Linked DNA regions of Homo sapiens: region 2 is linked to region 1. Evidence: promoter capture Hi-C in 16 types of primary human blood cells and fetal thymus (Javierre and others, 2016). All regions are on one chromosome and are shown on one strand. The core of a region is centred on a gene start or on the middle of the fragment in contact, and the rest is flanking DNA. Distances in the headings are between cores, read along the strand shown. Region 1 holds the start of NCOR2 (nuclear receptor corepressor 2). Region 2 overlaps LOC105370050 (a long non-coding RNA gene).

Region 1 (3,429 bases), core at 399-2,898:
CCTCCCGGCGCAGTCTGGCCCGGAGAGCCCCTTATATCAAAGCTGCCGCAAGGACCCAGATCTGGCTGAAAAGGGGCAAAGTCAAGGCCACCGGTAACACATCCCAACGCGCCCAGAACTCCCCCACCCCGCCCACAGGGTCCTCCCCTTATCCCCTCCTCCCCTCTTCCCTCCCTCACACATCCTTCCTCCAAATCTGCAAAAAGGGAAAAATAATAATAATCACAATAAAACCAGTTCTCACCAACGGGGGAGAGGAGGAGGGGGAGGAAGGGAGGAGGCTGAGCCGACAGAACAGATCCGCCCCCGCTGCCTGCACCAGACCCTCGGAGAGCCGGAGCGCGCGACAGGCGGCGGGAGGACACTCGCTTCCAAAAAAATAAACCTACAATGTAAAAATAACGCCGGGCGCCCCACGCTAATTGGGCCCGGGCGACAGCAGCTCCCAGGTACAGCCTGTCTCTCCCTCCCGCCCGCCGTGCCCTCCCGCCCTCGGCTTGCTCCTCCTGCAAGTGTCTGGGGCGGGGAGGGCGTACCCCACGGGTGCCCTCACTCCCCGCAGGCCTCTGAGGAAGCTGCCCTCTAGACAAGGGTCTGGGTCTTCCCAGTCGTGCCCAAGTGGGATCAGCTCTGAATTCCAACTTCGCAAAGTAGTGGCATCCCAAGTATCCGCACAGCCCGGGGGAGGGACTAGGAGGCGGCCCAATGAGGCGTCACCAGCCACGGGAGGCAGGCCCAGACACCAGGAACACCGGCCCGCGGGGGAGGGGGACCAGGGGCGACTCTCCCGAGGGACCCCGCCCAGCGCCCCGTGGCCCCACGCCTAGGAGGGACAAGGCTGGCTCTCCCCCTCGGCTGGTGAGAGACCCTCATGCGCCCCTCCACAACAGCCAGGCCAGGGAGCTAGGGGTACCATCTCCAAGGGCTTTCAAACCCGCGCTGCCCGATGGAAAATAAGGCGCAGTGTCGCCCCGCCAGGTCCGGGGCTACACCGGGTACAAGGGACGCCTGGCGGCCAAGTCCCCAGAGCCGGCGCACACTGTGGGGGGCCGCTCTGTGCATTTCCAGCGCGCCCCCCGCCCACCCCAACGCCACTTCCCTCCTTCCCGCCCCCTCGCTAGGGAGCTGGAGTTCCCCTAAGTTCCCCGGCGCCCCCGAGCACGCGGGCCGCAGTGTCGGCGGGGCGCCTTGCTCCCCAGCAGGCCACCCCCCGAGAGCGCCAACTCGGGAGTGCAGGGGCCCCGCCAACTCCGCCGCGTGCGCCGCCCGATCCTCCCCGGATCCCCCGGAAGCGCGCTCCGCGCCTCCCCCCGCCCTTCGCGGGGACCCTCGGCCCCAACTCACCTCGCGGAGGTGGCAGCGGTGGCGCCCGGGCTTGGGGCGCGCTCGGGCCGCCGGGGCGCTCAGGCAAGTGGCGGTGCCGATCGGGCTGGGGGCGCGCAGCAGGCCCGGCCTCGGGTCGGGACGCGATCCTCCCGCCGCCGCCTCCTAGGGCGCCGGCCCTGGGTCCCCGGCCCGCAAGTTGGCGCGCATCGCGGAGCGCAGGGCGCGGGCGCAGGGCTCGGGCGGGGCGCCGGCGGACGCGGGGCTCCGGTGCGGCCCGGCCTGCCCGCGGCTCCGCGCTCCCCGGCGGCCGCGGCGGCGGTGGCGGCGGCGGCGGCGGCGGCGGCGGCGGGAGGGGGAGGAGGGGGCGGGGCGCGAGCCCGGGAGGCGGTGGCTCGGCCTCCCTGCTCCCGGCTCCCCGCCCGCAGCGACGCGCCCCGGCCCGGCCCCCTCTGGCTCCTTAAAGGGCCCGCGCCTTCTCTCCAGGCCCTGCGCGTCCCCACTCGCGCGCGCACGCCGCCACACACACAGACACGCACGCACACACTTGGGCGCGACGCCGAGTTTCTTTTTGGCAGCTCCCCGAGGAGGAAGGAGGGGGGAAGCGCCTCCCAGCCTTCCCCTCCCTCTTCTCCTGCGGGCCCGGGGGCCCTCCTCCTCCTCTCCAGCCCCAGTACCTCACTGGAATCGCGTTTCAGCTATTAAATTATAACTCTGGAGTGGCCGCTGGATGGGGAGGGGGCGCGCAGGGAGGGCCCTACACAGGGCCTTTTAGGAGCACGCCCAGTGGGGCACTTGGGGACGGGAGCAGACAGTAGCGCAGAGCCCTCTCCAGGCAGGAACACGCTGGGCCTCCCCAGACCCGAGACCCAGCCCGGGCGAACACACTGCAGACTCACCACCCACCACGGACCGGAGATGTCAGATCTCACACAGACAAATACTGGGACACCCACGCGAGTTCACAGCACCCCGGAGGACACAGACGCTAGAATGCCAGTTTCCTGAGGGCAGAGATTTCTATTTTGTTCACTGCCCTATCGCAGTAGGGACTCACGAATGTGTTGAGTGAAGTCCCACTTGGGGACATTCAGGGACACAAATGCGGAGACAATGCAACGAGCCTGTGTCCCCCCCGCCCCCCCCACACACACACACAGACACACACATCCCAAAGCGTGACCCTGGGAGCCACACACGCCCGGCCTGCACAAGCACGCAGTCACAGACGGCACACATGTGCTCGCTCCCCCACGCACAGGCAGACACTCTCCGCTCCAGCAGGAACCTGGCCCCCCTGGCCGCCCTGACAACCCAGTGTCCTCATTTACCCCCTCCTCCCACCCCCTCCAGGTTTGCCCTCTCCAACCAGGGCAGATCTCTTTGAACAGCAGAGGGCACTGGGAGCCCTGGGCCTGGAGCCTCCCTCCCTCCCTCCTCTTCTGCTTTCTCCTAAGATGTTGGAGAGTTTGAATTTTTTTTTTTTTTTTCAGTTCAACTTTCCTTTTTTGGAGTGACGTCTCAGCAGATTCAGTTCTGCCATCTGGCAACATCTGAGAACCCCCAGGGAGAGCGGGGAATGGCTGCGGTGGGGAGGCAGCCGCGTGGTTTCCAGAGGCCGGCGGGCCTCCCGCCTCCGCCAGGATGCTGGGTTTGCCGGGCTCCCCTGCAGCCAGGTCCTTCTCTGCCCCCTCGGGCTTTTAATTATGAGCTTTTGGGGGGCTGGCGGGAGCCTCTGGGGCTGACAATGTCTGGCAAAAGGGAAGTGGGTGTGGAGGGGAGCAGTTTGCAGACTGAAACAGGAGGGGTCATAGGTCAGTGCCCCCCCCCCACCTCCTTGTTTTGGCCCGACCAGCTCCAGTTCTGCCCAGCCAGTCGGTCCGAATCCACAGGCAAAAAGCTGGAGCCGCAGAAGGAAGGCCTGATCCCCCACCTCCCCCACCAAGGGTCTTGGAGAGGGAAGCGGGGGCGGGGGAGCTCCTCTGCCAGCCCCAGGCCGCCTGGCAGCCCTCCTCTGTCACCTGAAAACCCTCTGGGAATTTGCATTTCCATGAGATTCAGCTCTATTTGAAGCTGGAGGAGGGACATTTGGGGTGTCTTCAGGGG
Region 2 (3,429 bases), core at 495-2,994, 300 kb after region 1:
TTGTCGCCCCAGCTACTCAGGAGGCTGAGGCAGAAGGATCCCTTGAGTCCCAGAGTTCAAGGCTGCAGTGAGCCCTGATCTTACCACCGCACTCCAGCCTGGGTGACAGCAAGACCCTGGGGGAAAAAGAAAAAAGAAAAAAGGGAGAGAAGTGGGCTGGCACTAAGTGGCAGTTGCCCTTAGATGGGTGAGTGTATCCCTGAAGCCCTCCACGCCCCCCTGAAGTCCTCCACCACACCCCACCTGGCCTGCCTTCTGGTCCCTGAAGTGCTGGCCAGTCCCCTCATTTTCTGAATGAAGTTACTGAGAAGAGACTCCTGGGTTACACAGGGACAGGAGGGTGGTGTCCCCAGCACGTGGGTAAGGCAGGCTCAGTCCTTGAGTGCTCCGAGGGAGGCTTTCTAAACCTCTTATTTAACTCCAGAAGAAAGCAGCCTTCTCGCAGGGCCATCCTTAAGCAACATGTCTTCGCCTGAACCAATATTTACAGAGCACCTGCTATGTTCTCGTTAGACAGCTTTGCCTGGCACTGCCTTCCTCTAAGGAGGCCGAATATGGTCCAGTGCCCCAAGGGGCAGGGCCCAACTCCTGAGGGAGGTCAGAGTGGCTGAGGTGAGACTGTGGTAGCCCCGGGGGACAGGTTCAGAGAAATCCAGGCTCTGGGGTTTCCCACATTGGAGTCCTGGGGCAAGTGGTTTGGGCCTTTCTGTGCCTCAGTCTCCTCATCTACGAAACGGGGATTAGAAGAGCCCCTTTCCAAGGGCTACCATGAGGATTAAACAAGTCAAAAAATGTGCCAGTGCTTAGAACAGTCCCTGGAATGTGTCAGTGCAACTGAGCTGGGGAGTGTCGTCGTTATTTTCCGGACCCACATGAACTGGCGCCTGCCCATCTCTCTGCCTCCATCTCCTGCCCTCTCCCCCATTGTTTCAGTTCATTGAGCATCCCCAGCTTTTTCTTGTGTCAGGAACTTTGCACTTCCTGTTCCTCTGTCTAGGATACGCTTCCCCTAGATCCTTCCATGGCTCCCCACTCTCCTCTTCTGGGCTCAGCTGAAACCCACTCCTCAGAGAAGCCTTTGCTGTTGCATCTGTTGAAAACAGGAGTCCCAGCCCACTCTGTCAGGCCACCTTGCTTTGTGTGAAATGGTCTTATCTGTTTCCTTGTTCATCTCCTCCAGCTCCCGAGAGACAGAAGCTGACCCTGTTTTGCTTATCGATGTATCTCCAGCACCTGGAAAAATGCCTGGCACATAGCAGGTACTCAATAAATACTTTACTCAATCAGCTAATTAACTCATTAATTAATCAAGTAACTGATCGATTGATTAATTAATTAATATCACTTCATTGAATTCCTTAAGGCCTTCAACAGCCTTCAGCTATGCAGTTGCCTTTTTTTTTAATGACTTTTGTAGTTCTCGGAAATTAGCCAGTTAACTAAAATCTGCGGTCTGCCTGGCCCTGACACCCTCCTCCACTTCCTTGATACTGACCTGCCTTGACCATCTCACCCAATCTAACTCTGATTCATGACCAAGTCTTCAAGGTCCAAATGTACGTGATGCTTACCCAAGAGGGCTGCAAGGCCATGGCTGGAGAGCCCTCATGTCACGCCATGCTGTCACTCGAGAGAGAAGGGCAGAGATGAAAGGGTGATGGGACACGTGAGCCACCTTGGCCTTGCTGAGGGGAGTCACTTCCGGTGGCAGGGAGGGCAGCTTAAGAAGGGAAAAAAAGACTTCGTCATGTTTGAGAGAGAGGTCTTGCCCTGGGGAAAGTCGAAGATACAGAAGAAAAGAAAGAGTGCTGATAACAAAATATGATCAACATGGTGTCACAGGGCTCCTGGAAAATCAAGTCAGATGCTTTTCCTCCTCTGCTCAGAGTCCTTTCGTGATCAAAGACGGAGAATGACTGCAGGCAAAGACCTGGAGGAGTTGGAAGCCTCTTGAGGTGCTTGTGGGATTGTAAAATGGTGCAGCCTCAAAAGGTAAACATAGGGGTCCCCTAAGACCCAGCAGTTCCACTCCTGGGTATATGCCCAGGAGAAAGGAAAGAGCATGTCCACACGGAAGCCTGGACACAAATGTTCACAGCAGCCAAGCAGTGAAAATAACCCACACCCCCATCAGCTGGTGAATAGGTAAATAAAATGTGGCATAACCACGCACTGGAATATGACTCAGCATAAAAAGGAATGAAGGGCTGACGCGTGCTACACCATGGATGAACCTTGAAAACATTGATAAGTGAAAGAAGCCAGACACAAAGGCCACATGTATGATTCTGCTTATATAAAATGTCCATAGTAGGCACATCTATGGGGACAAAAAGTAGACCAGTGGTTGCCAGGGGCTGGGGAGAATGAGGAGTGACTGCTACAGGTTTGGGGTTTCATCTTGGAGTGGTGAAAATGTTCTAAAAGTGACGGTAAAAGTGATGGTAATGATGGTTGCACAACTCCGTGAATATACAAAAAACCATCAAATTACACACTTTATTTACTTTTTCTTTTTTTCAAGAGACAGGGTCTCACTCTGTCACCCAGGCTGGAGTGCAGTCTTGAAGTCTTGGGTTCAAACCATCCTCCCGCCTCGGCCTCCTGACTAGCTTGGACAACAAGTATATGCCACTATGTACACCTGATGTTTTCATTTTTGTTGAGACAGGGTCTCACTTTGTTGCCCAGGCTGCTCTCAAAATTCTGGTCATCCTCCCACCCTGGCCTCCCAAAGCGCTGGGATTACAAGTGTGAGCCATCATGCCTGGCCAAATTATATACTTTAAATGGGTGAATGTATGATATGCAAATTATATCTCAATGAAAACTGTTATTTTAAAGAAATGGCCAGGCATGGTGGCCCATGCCTATAATCCCAGTGCTTTTGGAGGCTGAGGCAGGAGGATCCCTTGAGGCCAGGAGTTCGAGATCAGCCTGGGCAACACAGCCAGACACCATCTCTACAAAAAATAAAAAGTTAGCCAGGTAAAGTGGCACACACCTCTAGTTTCAGCTACTGAGGAGGCTGAGGTGGGAGAATCACGTGAGCCCAGGAAGTCGAGGCTGCAGTGAGTGAGCTGTGATTGTGTCACTGCACTCCAGCCTGGGCAACACAGTGAGACCCTGTCTCTCAAGAAAACAAAAAGAAAGAAACCTTTCCGTGGCTCCCACCTCATTCAGCATAAAAGCCAAAGCCCTCACCATGGCCCACAAGATCACCACATCTCATACTAGAGAGACAAAGTCAAAACGCACCCAGATGGGCACATCTCCCTGACCTCATCCCCCTCCCTCTCCTTGCCCACTCTGCTCCAGCCACATCCTCCTCCCTGGAGCTCCTCCACCTGTTGCCCGGCTCGTGCCCCAGAACCTTTGCACTCCCTGGTCCCCTCCTGGAATGCTCCTCTCCCTAACACCCAGGAGACT

The links. Contacts are between HindIII fragments. The CHiCAGO score rates a contact against its expected background, and 5 or more counts as called.
Region 2: a fragment that was not itself captured here is called in contact with the fragment with the promoter of NCOR2 in region 1 in 1 of 17 cell types (monocytes); the score reaches 9.7 in monocytes.

The regions. Positions count from the first base shown.
Region 1 is chr12:124,565,964-124,569,392 of GRCh38, forward strand. NCOR2 (nuclear receptor corepressor 2) reads right to left here and starts at 1,649. Exons shown (of 49, transcript NM_006312.6): 1 at 1,345-1,649. RefSeq lists silencers at 395-494, 695-914, 1,055-1,164, 1,185-1,544, 1,655-1,904 and enhancers at 2,025-2,074, 2,241-3,101, 3,102-3,429. The HindIII fragment of the contact is 7,570 bases long and covers 1-3,429 here.
Region 2 is chr12:124,865,418-124,868,846 of GRCh38, forward strand. It overlaps LOC105370050 (a long non-coding RNA gene), which reads left to right. Exons shown (of 3, transcript XR_945488.3): 1 at 1-187; 2 at 1,181-1,259. Among named protein-coding and RNA genes, the nearest start is that of SCARB1, 3.3 kb to the left of the region's middle. RefSeq lists enhancers at 482-651, 1,080-2,279. The HindIII fragment of the contact is 4,035 bases long and covers 1-3,429 here.